2 separate regions of the Homo sapiens genome follow, and region 2 is linked to region 1. Evidence: promoter capture Hi-C in 16 types of primary human blood cells and fetal thymus (Javierre and others, 2016). All regions are on one chromosome and are shown on one strand. Each heading gives the region's core, a stretch centred on a gene start or on the middle of the fragment in contact. The rest is flanking DNA. Distances are from core to core; before and after follow the strand shown.

The links. Contacts are between HindIII fragments. The CHiCAGO score rates a contact against its expected background, and 5 or more counts as called.
Region 2: a fragment that was not itself captured here is called in contact with the fragment with the promoter of RGS18 in region 1 in 1 of 17 cell types (megakaryocytes); the score reaches 6.4 in megakaryocytes.

Annotation. Positions count from the first base shown.
Region 1 is chr1:192,155,408-192,161,766 of GRCh38, reverse strand. RGS18 (regulator of G protein signaling 18) reads right to left here and starts at 3,305. Exons shown (of 5, transcript NM_130782.3): 1 at 3,011-3,305; 2 at 2,446-2,547; 3 at 1,328-1,389. The coding sequence starts at 3,129. The HindIII fragment of the contact is 5,451 bases long and covers 1-4,148 here.
Region 2 is chr1:192,099,680-192,105,444 of GRCh38, reverse strand. No RefSeq gene overlaps it. Among named protein-coding and RNA genes, the nearest start is that of RGS18, 56 kb to the left of the region's middle. The HindIII fragment of the contact is 8,331 bases long and covers 1-5,441 here.

The DNA.
Region 1 (6,359 bases), core at 2,056-4,555:
AACAGGAATCCTTTCTTCCAGTAGACACCTTAAAATTGTGAAAGACACGGGCAACGCTACAAGGAGTAGTTAGAGTAGTCTGGCTAACCTCATCTTGGAAGGGTCTGGGAAGAGCTGGGAAATGATTGTATTTCAAAGACTAAGGTGAGAAACTGGACAAGTTTAAAGTGCAAAAAAAAAAAGCTGTGGGCTTGAGGTGGATGTTTGGTAATGATAAAGCATTGCTTTTTTTGCAGACTCTGACAAGTTCAGGGTGGAGAATAATAAATCTGTGATTACCTAGCTGCATCACCTGCTCAGTTGAGTCTTTCTATCTGAAAGAAAGCATAAAATGAATACAGACAACAAAGTTCACTCACTTGCTACCTTATGTAAATTGACCCTAAAGAGTGGCAATCCAGGGAGCCTGCCTCCTAAGCCATGCTATATTATAACAGTGTTCCAGAGTCAAATGAGGCCTTGATGCTTGTCCTCACCCTCCATCTCACAGACAAAGCTCCACCTTAAATACATACTCGATTCTCAACATTTCTACAAAATTCTGCTTTAAAAATAGACAATTGATATGAAGTACAGAATGAAGAATTTATAAATTTTTTTTAAAACTGTGTTTATGGAGCGGGGCGCAGTGGTTCACGCCTGTAATCCCAGCACTTTGGGAGGCTGAGACGGGTGGATCACCAGGTCAGCAGATTGAGACCATCCTGGCTAACACGGTGAAACCCTGTCTCTACTAAAAATACAAAAAAATTAGCCGGGCGTGGTGGCGGGAGCCTGTAGTCCCAGCTACTCGGGAGGCTGAGGCAGGAGAATGGCCTGAACGGAGGCGGAGCTTGCAGTGAGCCGAGATGGCGCCACTGCACTCCAGCCTGGGCGACAAAGCGAGACTCCGTCTCAAAACAAAAAACAAAAACAAACAAACAAAAAAAACTGTGTTTATGTGGGTTTCCTGTATGTCCATCGAAAGAATTACTTGATATTTTTAATCCTTGAACAATGAAACTAACATGAATAGTTCGTTAATCATGAATTTGATAAAACCGAAGATTTCATTCAAAAATCGGAAAAATTTAAAAACTGAAACTAGCTACAGTATAAATAACTAATATTTCATCCACAGTAGGTAATTCTAAACAAAATGAGAACTTTTAAAAAAATTTCCATTATTTGACTTTTCTATTACTTAGTTCTGTTGATCAGAAAATTGAATTACTGAAAATTAACAATCAGACAAAAATTTTGTGACCTATTGTTTCGGATAATTACATGCATAGTTTGTGTAATTTTCCATTAAGCACACAAAGTATTTGGTGAAAGTACCACTAACCTCTATGGGAAAGCAGTTTGTCAAATGATTCACCCCATTTCACTGCCTCTTCAGGGGAGACTCTGTACAAGAAACAAAATGTTTTATAATGGAGTGTGCAGAAAGTCTGTTTATGAATCTGTTCTAACATATGCTATTTTACTGCTCTTTTCAATTATATTTCACAGTTTCTCCTTTGATTATAATATAATGAAAATTGCATTTACATTAGAAACTTTGAAAACATTGTTCAATTTTCTTTTGGAATTTGTCTGTTGAATAATGTGTTGAAATAACATTATTTTTTTTCTCATGGATATGTGAGTTTTATTTTTTAATTAAAAATTAATCCTTTTTTAGGTTAAAGGGCACAGATAACAAATATAAAGAAATCAGGTCAACTATCTGTTTAAATTCAGCAAGTAGAAAAAAACTAAACTCACAGTATCTTTCAGTTAAAAAAAAATTATACTGCAATTTCCTTGAAGCTGTAACCACACTAGGCTGCAAATTTTTTTTTTAAACGGATACAGGAAGTTTGACTAATAAAGTTTCAAAGGGATAAGAAATATAAGATATTTTAATAGAAAAAATATTCTAGAGATGTTGGTAATGTGGAGAATTGAATATATTTTCTCGGATCTTTTTTATTATACTCTAATTTGGAAGAATTTGTATGAAACTAGTATATAAGGTTTTTGCATTTTCTTTTTGAATTAAATAAATGCTAAGTATTAAAAGACATTATTTGTGCTTTACTTGCTATAATGCGTGTGTTTTTTCAAACTACTGAAGAAAGAGATGAATATCTCTCTGCTATGACAATATTGCATTGTGAAAACTCTTAAATTAATGAGCATTTTATCAGGTTATAAGGAGTAAAACATGTCATTTAAAACTGACAGGTATATAATTTTAAAAGAGCAGCTTTAAGTGTTCACGTGATTATTCAATTCAAGCGATTTAATTCAAGTGATTTAATTTTATGAAATATTTCTAGTCTCTTCAAATGAAATTTCTAACTTTCCTTATATTGCTGTGTAATTTTCAATAAATCAGAAATCCCTAACTGCATTTTTCTTAAATCTTTAATGATAGAATCAGCAAAATCTTCCTCAAAATACTGAAAATTTATTCACCTTGTTTCTTTGGCCAAGTGCCCAGATCTACTGGAGCGGGTGTCTTCATGAAACTCAGGTTTCTGCACAAGAAGACTTAGTCTATTTCTTTTTTCCTTAGCTCTGTAATAAAAAGGCCTTCATGTCAGGACAATTTAGATGACAGTTAAAATCTCTCCTGCTGACTACCAGAAAATTTTGTAGTTGGTAAAAACCCACGCCCACCCATACCCACACACTCATGAATCCCATTTAAATATTGTATTTGTGGAGGAATTAGGGTAACATACGAAAATGTTTCTCCTTTTGCTCACCGACAATCAAGTATTTGAGATTATATTTCAATAAAGATTGCACTAGTTCCTCTATGTGGCTAACATTATTACACTTTTTTTTTAATGAGAACACTTTAGATTTCAGTTTGTTGTTTAAACCTAAGAAATAAAAAGGTGTTTTTTTTTCCCAAATTATAGCAATACAAACAATATATTTTCCACCCAATAGTTCAAAAACAAGAGGTAATGAATCTTCAACCTCAATTATGCTTTTAAAAGTATAAGGCTGACTTAAAATTGTACAATTTTACCTGATTTTGGCTTCTTTGCTTGTTTCTTCTTTTCCTGAACCATGTATTAACTTGAAAAAAGTTTTTTCTTTTGATTCACACATATTTATTTGAGAAAAGAAAAGCAATGTTGTTTCCATCTTCTCTCTAAAATGAAGAGATGTCTAATTTATTACATCCTTCCCTAGTTCATTTATTAATACTATTCCATACATATACATAGTAGAATAAAAAGTTATCACAACTCTTACAGTAATGTTTACAAAAAAGAAGTCAAGAGCTGCGTTTCTTTCTGTCTCTGCAGAAATGCAGAACTGAGGAAATGAAGTACAATTTGGTCCTAAGTTGTTTAGGGAAATGATACCACAAATTTGCAAAATGACTCTTGGTCTCTAAGATAAAGACTAGTCTTACCACAGTGCAACTTCTCGTTCAAGTTTGCGCAACCAGAATGATGCTTTAATAGACTCAAATAACACTGTCATTTCCCACAGGAACTTTTCAAAAAGTTTTTAAATGTGTGGACTGTGTGTTAAAATGTGTTATGGCAAAGTATTATATCAAACATTAGGAGATATTTTCTCCAGTTCTTAAAAAAGTATTTTTCTTATTGTTATTACATGAGTTAAGTAAATCACATTTAACTGACATAAGATTATGTAATGTTAATTACATTGGCTTAACATATTGTAACAAAATAAGACAATAGATCAGAATTTTATGGTTAAAAAAAGATTGTAGAAAGCATTTAATTTAACAGTTTTGGGCTGGGCACAGTAACTCATGCCTGTAATCTGGAGGCTAAGGTGGGCAGATTACCTGAGCTCAGGAGTTCAAGACCAGCCTGGGCAACATGGTGAGACCCCATCTCTACTAAAAATACAAAAAATTACCCAGGCACGGTGGTGTGCACCTACAGTCCCAGCTACTCAGGAGGCAGAGCCAGGAGAATCCCTTGAACCTGGGAGTCGGAGGTTGCAGTGAGCTGAGATCATGCCGGCTACTTCACTTCAGCCTGGGCAACGGAGCAAGACTCTGTCTCAAATAAATAAATAAAGTTTTAAGCACATATCTATAGAATGATTTTAGACATTTTTGAAATTTTTATCAGTCTGTGATGAAATGGAAAAAAATATGAAAAGTTTTTTTTCTTAAAGCTTTATTTTAATTCCTTTGATATAAAGGACTTGCTATTTTGAATTTGCTCTCCTGACTCTTTTGTTGTTAAAATGTTCTTTATAATGTAAAAATGTTCTTTATAATGACATGGATTAAGTAGAGATGGTAGTTTTTATATTTTAATGCCTTTATTAAAAAAAATGTTGACAACTCCAATTGGTTTAGCCTCCACTTCTTTCACTGTTTTATAGAATACAAAAGTCTTACAAATGCAGTTCTAGTCCATAATTCAAATTTTATTGAAAAATAAACCAAAGTTCACAGGCATTAGGTAATTTAATCCTACAAAGTTTCAGAGACAGGCCAGTGGAAAATCTGGAATTATCAGAGCCTTTGATCACCTACTATGTGCTTTAGTCCTTCCAAGAATCTTTGATCTCCAGTAGTGAATGCTTTAATCTAAAATGGTATATATTGAAAGCTGAGTTATACAAACCTAAAAGAAAATTTTATTTTCAGTCTTTTTGAATTATTTTTTTACCAAGACAATTTATCAGGGATACCAGCTAAAAGCTCAAAACATTTATCTATATGAAATTAAAGACTTTCTAGTATATATTTATACATATACCCCCTGATTCCATGACTTGTACTTTGAACATATTTTAAATCTCTCACCTTGGCTGAGAATTGAAAAATATTATGTATGATGGCATTTTGCATTGAGCTTCTGCTGGAAATGGATACTGATAATGCAGATTATGCTTCCACCCTGCTGTCCCCTAGTAATGATTAGTATCCACTGTGTTTATATCAGTTTAATCCTATGAAGGTGAATGAGCACAAGAGAAAATCATAGGAGCATGGACATCATCCAGTCACTAGGACTATAACTTAACTGTTAACTCAGAGAAGTTAAAGACATAAAATCAATATATTATTTTTCATAAGATATGTTAAATTTATGTGTGAAGTGTGCTATACACAATGCTGATAGAACCGTGGAAAAAGAAATTGTGAAAATACGGGCACAAGTTGCCGGGCACGGTGGCTCATACCTGTAATCCCAGCACTTTGGGAGGCTGAGGCAGGTGGATCATGAGGTCAGAAGTTCAAGACCAGCCTGGCCAAGATGGTGAAACCCCATCTCTACTAAAAATACAAAAATTATCCAGGCGTGGAGGCAGGTGCCTGTAATCCCAGCTACTGGGGAGGCTGAGGCAGAGAATTGCTTCAACCCGGGAGTCAGAGGTTGCAGTGAGCCGAGATCATGCCACTGCACTCCAGCCTGGGCGACAGAGTAAGACTCCATCCCCCTCACAAAAAAATAAAAAGAAAAAGAAAAGAAAATATGGGCATAAGTGAACTACTCCACAGGTCTGTGTAAAGTTCTGAAACAGAATTGGAAAAGAGAGGTTTGGCTCTACTCTGCGTATGTGGTCAGTTAGGAGCTGGAACCAGAGAGGAAGAAAAAGGTGGATTCTGAAGGTGACATCAGTTAAATATCATTCTTTTGGGCATGGTCAGTTATTATTTAAATATGTATACTTTTAATGATAAGGATTTATATATATATGTGTGTGTGTGTGTGTATATATATATACCCACGTGTTTCCCTTTTCTAGCTCTCTTCACTCCTTTGTGCAGGCCTGGAATCCTTTTCCATTAGCATAAAGACCTGTCTTCAATATTTTCTGTAGTGCATATCTGCTAACAATAAATATATTCAAGTACTGATTTTCTGAGAAAAATTTTTTTTTGTTTATATTATGAAACGGCTAAATCAAGCAATTTAACATATGTATTATCTCACGTGCTTATTGTTTTATGGTGAGAAAACAAAATATATGATTTTATGAACAATTTTCAAATATATAACATATGAAAAAAGTGTCTTTTTCCCCATCTTCCGTTGGAGAATATTTTCACCAGAAAGAATTATAGGATGATTTTTCTTTTCTTTAGGACTTTAAAAGATTTTACACTTTTGTCTTCTGAACTCCATTATTTCTGTTGAGAAATCAGTGCCAGTTTTCTATGTTCTAATATGTCTTTCTTCTCCTGTGACTACTTTTCAAACGTTTTTATAACTAGTTTTAAAACTTTGATTAAGATATAAATGGTGTTTGTTCTACTTGAAATTTGTTGAGCTTCCTGGTCTTGTGGGCTTTAGTTTTTATCAAAGTTGAAAACTTTTAGGCACTAGTTCTCCATTTTTTTGTTTCTCTTTCTCCTATCTTCAGATATTCCA
Region 2 (5,765 bases), core at 27-2,526, 54 kb after region 1:
TCTATGGAGCAAGAGTGTGCCAGTGGAAGCTGTAACATAGGGAAAAGCAACGACTGAACCAGGGATCAAATAGTTACCCACTGCTGCTTGAGTCCTGCCTTGCAGGTAATTCTACTAATTGCTGTTCATCCATCAGGCTTTCTCAGAAGCCCTGGTTCTAGTATAGATCTCCTGTTACCTCTTTCCCATGTTCACCCAGACACAATCTTGGAAGGGCAAGATCAGAAGGAACCATATTAGAGCTTTCTGCTTCACTGGGAGGCCTGAAGCCTCTGAGCGGCTTGAGGAAAAAATACCAAAGTACTTGTGCAAGCAATAACCATCCTTTGCAATGTCTGTGAAAGGAATTTAAGATGAGGACATGATTCTGCATTCTTTTTAAAGTATGCTCATTTCCTGAATGCCAGTTATTTAAGCTGTTGTATGTTTGATTAGTTTGAAATTGCATGCCTTTTATATGTGTTGGTCAATTTATCTTTAGGAAACTGATGTTTCCCCAAGGTCACAGCAATTATATGCTGTTTTGTTTGCAAGGATGTGTTGCTGAGAGCAAAATGTTAACATCAGTCAGAGATCACCCCATCAGGGTTTATTCCTGAAGGTCTGAATCTCCATGCTAGCTGCACTAAGGGCAATAACAATATGTTATTTTCTTATATAACAACAATAAAATGCTACTTAGTACAATATTATACAAGCCTACTTAGTTTCTAGTTTCTTCTGTAATGTCCCCCATAGCATTGTGTTTTTCCAAGCCTAAGTTCTGGTCTATTGCAAATATTAATGGAAAATAATTACACACAACTCTGCCAGATAGACCATTACTTTCAATTCCCTTTGACTCATTTAGACAAAATAGAATGGATCTTTCTTGATTATTTAATTATTGGGTATAATTACTATAATTACTTAAAATATGTAAGAGGTCTTCTTATGTTCACTGAAGAACAGATAATAAATCAAAAACTACATCTTTAACATTGAGTATTTTCCAAGATTAACATAAAGACAAGAAAAAATAAATCCTGTGATAAGCATATTAGTTGCAAAATTCCTTACAAAAATTTACTAGATATGAAGGTAAGATCTTTGCTTTATTAACTGCTTCATCAGCAGAAACTTGAAGACTGACATTTAAAAGGAATTCATTAAATATCTGTTGAATGAATGAATGAAATTGATTTAAACAAATGCTTAAGCCTGCCATTTAACACAATTCAGAGTTTTTAATATGAAACATAGAAGTGGAGCTTCTAGAAAGGAGTTTGTTTACTGTTTTTGCTTTTGATTTAATAGTAAAATGATAGACTAAGTTACGTTTTTAGCAGCACATTTTTTGAAATATCTTTGCCAGTTGTGTTATGTGTTCAATGGACTTATAAGATCCAGAAAGCTGAGCTGCTCAGGGTACTTGTATCACCTCATCAACAAGGAGACACTAAATATCTACTGTGAATTTATTTCTAAGAAAGAAAAAAAAAGAAATATAAACTCTTGTCTACCTTTAAGGAGAATGGAGTTCAATTGGAGAGAAGTGGACCATGAATGAAGAACTACCAAACATTACAAAATAGTATAATGTGAAAAGCTAAGCTATTTAATGAATTAATATCTTATATTAAAAATACAACACAAAATGTTTTCTTGTTCAAGGAGAGCAGAAAGGACTTTTGTAAACCAGAGGTAGCAATTGGCTGCCTGCAGGCAAGACAACAGACTTCTTTTGCTTTGCCTGCACAATGTTGTAACAGAATGAATTAATATTTAAATATGGAAGATTTTAGATTAATATATGTTTAGATTTCTTCTATGAAAATAATTTCTGAAAACCTGGTATCATTAGACCAGCCTTTTTTTTTTTTTTTGTAGATGAACAGTGGCCATCACCTTTATAAGTACTGATACCTTCACACCAAATGATACTACTTTATTCATTCTTGTTACTTTCATTGAGAACATATGAGTTTGCTAACTCTAGTGTTAACTCACAAAACGTTATCTCCAGACTCCATTGTTTCATTTTAACTTTTTAATACATAAGACATGCATGCCTACGATCTCTTATTTCAGGACAACCAGAGCAACAAGTTTTTTAGGAAGGTAGGTTCTTAAAAGTAGAGTGTGTATTGGACACCTGTGCATTCTAAGTAGTAGAATAGCATTGGGAGATATACCTAATGCTAGATGACACGTTAGTGGGTGCAGCGCACCAGCATGGCACATGTATACATATGTAACTAACCTGCACAATGTGCACATGTACCCTAAAACTTAGAGTATAATAAAAAAAAAAAAAAAAGAAAACAGAACTAGAACCATCATTATTCATCCAGTGCTTTGCATTCTGTGACTTTTCATGTTACTTCAGTTTTAGCAGTTTATCATTTTATTAACTTACAGAAAATTGATTCTCAAGGGGAAGAGTCATTTTTTACAGTGGACATTCTGTTTTGGTGGTGTTAAAATTCTAAGGGGTTGATAATTTAAGCTGGAAGAATATTTCTTTCATTTGGTCATATCAGCTTCTTTTCCAAAGACATACAAGCCTCACCAGCATTCTAGATAGCACCACAGATTTATTTCCTCTACCATTTTAATTTATATATTCTGTAATTTTTTTTGTCATGGAAAAATTTGTTGAAATAGAATTGGTTGTAAAAGATAAATTTGTAAAATAAATGTGGCGGGAAAGGAAAGGAAGGAGGGTTGGACTTTGGTGTGTCCTTTGCCAGCTTATGATTTTCTACTATATGCAACACCTAGATTTCCTTTTGGAGACTTAACTTGTCTTGTTTCCAGTAAAATATACACACGGAGAAAGAGAAAACTGAAATATGTTCTTTTTTTTCATGAGAGAGCGGTGTATTACAATTCAGGTTAGTGCGGCTTCATATCTCAACAATATCCCAAGGATAAAGTAGTACATGTTTTACCATCGGGAGGTGAGAAAACTTAAGTCAGTGGTATCTTACTGTTTGGGGAATTCTAACATTCAGAGGAAGCCATTCAAGTTCAGTCAATCGGTGTAAAAGTGCTTTCCCTCTATATCTCTTTACAGTTATAATATTGTTGAAAGTAACAAGTACTTCCAAACCTTCTAGTGGCTTTCAATTATCAAAGAAACACAGTTAATCAAAGCTACAATCACTGTGTTAGATGTTGAGCCATAAACTGTAGACTCTATTCTGAAGAGCTCACATCCTAGGGAATATACAAAAACTAAGCAGGGAAATTAAAAACCAGTTTTCTCTCTCTCTCTCTTTTTTTTTTTTTTTTTTTTTTTTTTTTTTTTTGAGACGGAGTCTTGATCTGTCACTAGGCTGGAGTGCAGTGGCACAATCTCAGCTCACTGCAACCTCTGCCTCCCGGGTTCAAGCCAATTCCCTGCCTCAACTTCCCGAGTAGCTGGGACTACAGGGGCACGCCACCATGCCCAGCTAATTTTTGTATTTTTAGTAGAGACGGGGTTTCACCTTGTTGGCCAGAATGGTCTTGATCTCTTGACCTCATGATCAGCCTGCCTTGGCCACCCAAAGTGCTGGGATTACAGGCATGAGCCTCTGCGCCTGGCCACAAACCAGTACTCTCTTTAGGTGGTAATGAGGGAATAGAAGGAAAAAAAAAAAAACCCAGTACTCTCAGTAGTAGAATAGATACTAAAAGAACAGAGGAAGCACACATTACTTGATCTTGAGGTAGACACCAAAACTTGCTGGAATTGTATAATATATACATTATAGCTCAGGATATTAAGCAAATGTCAAATGTTGCTGTGTATGCTGAAGAATATACTGTGCAGTTGATAATAAAGAAGAGTCAAACATCTTATGATATTTGAAATTTTGTTTGTAAGAAAAAATTTTCTACCTGACAGAGCAGGAGCACTGTCATCTTGGACAAACACCGCCATTTTAAGTTCCAGCTTCCTTTGTAACCTCATGCATTTCAAGGAAATCACTTCTCTTCTAACAACAAACAGCCAGAAAGAGCAGACAGCAAAACATGGATAAGGCAGCTTGGCACAGAAGGAGGAGGGAAAGTCTTTTGGGTAACTACCAAACTTCATACTTATACAATGGGCCCCAGTAAAACAGTGGGCCCTAATAAACACATTTCCTTTTCCTTTAGGTGCACTAAGATAGGGAGTGGGCCCTAATAAACACATTCCTTTCCTTTTAGGTGCACTAAGATAGGGAAGCTAAACGCAGACTTTGGTGATATGCCTGCAGGTGCAGAAAGACGTATGGGAACAGACACAAAACCTCTCCCTCCCAGATAAACAAGACAAAGAGACACAGACTAAAAGTTGGCCTATGTGGTCTGAGAATGGAGTGAGAGCTGATGAAAACTCTGCTCTATACAGACAGCACATCTGGTCCTAACTGAACCATCGGGCCCTAGGAGGATAAGGCATCCCCTCCTCATGAGCCCCTGAACCCTTAAATACCCTTAGTCTGTAACAGAGAAGGCTCATGACCTAACTCGGCCAGAAGCCTCTGTCAAGTTTATTCTGTAAAATAAACCTGTTGAGCAGCTTTTCGTGTTTCTTCCTTCCTTCTTCAACTCTTACACTACCAGTCTTGATGATTTAATGGATGTGGAATGAGATGGAGACTAAGATGACTCCTAAGTCTTTGAGTGTCTTTTGGTAAAATTATCTACAAAGGAGCTGTGGAAGAGTAAAACCTGAATTTAGTGCTTCAATAGCAGGCGTTCAGAGCAGTAAAGATCAGAATTTCATCCTTGCATGAAATGTCTATGAATTTCAAGTGGAAATGTCTATGAGAATGTTGGAAATAGGTATATAGAGCTCATGAAATGATCACAATTAAAAATGTAGACTCTAACGCAATCAGTATAGAGGTAATATCTGTAAAATCACTTACGGGTAGATTCACAGAGGGAGAAGAAGAGAAGAAGAATGAGTTTAGGTCTTGGAATCCACAAGAGCTAAATGAAATGGCTGAAAACTATGTCAAAATAGCCAAGAAATATATAATAGTCAATAAATCTAGAGAAGAGAACAATTTAAACAGAGATTTGAACATTATGTAATGAGTGTAATACTGAGTCACTCATAATCTTAAGAAGGTAATTTCAATGAAGTGGTAGGTGACAAGTTAGACTGCTCTAGTTGAAGGTGTTAGAATGAAACAAGAGCGTGGAGACCGCAAGTGCTTACTTCTTCAAAGGAACTTGGTTGGTCCTGAAGAGTGGAAGGAATAGAAAAGTAGAAGGAAGAAAATAGTGAACTAAAAAGAAAAAAGCCTCGAAGGAAGGTGGTTGTAATTAGTGTCTTTGGTGTGTAGGGAACAGGACTGTCCTTACTTCTCCTGATCTCCTTAGAGCTGTGTACTAGTTTTCTAGGTCTGTAGTACAAAGTACTACAAACTGAATAGCTTTAAAAAACAGGTATGTATTGTGTCCCAGTTCTGGAAGCTTGAAGTCTGAGATCAAGTTGTTGGGAGGGTTGGTTCTTTTTGAGAGCTGTGAGGAACCATCCCTCTCAGCAACTATGGCTCTCTCCTAGCTTCTGGCAGTTTGCTGGTGATCTTTGATATTCGTTGGCATGTAGAAGAATCACCCTTATTGTGTTTATCAGGTGTTCTCCCTGTGTGTGTTTCTGTGTCCAAATTTCCCCTTTCTATAAGGAGAATCTGTCCTATTGGATGAGGGGGCCAATCCACTCCAGTATTCCTTCATCTTAACTAATTAAATCTACAATGAAAGTATCTCCAAATAAGGTTACATTCTGAGGTACTAGT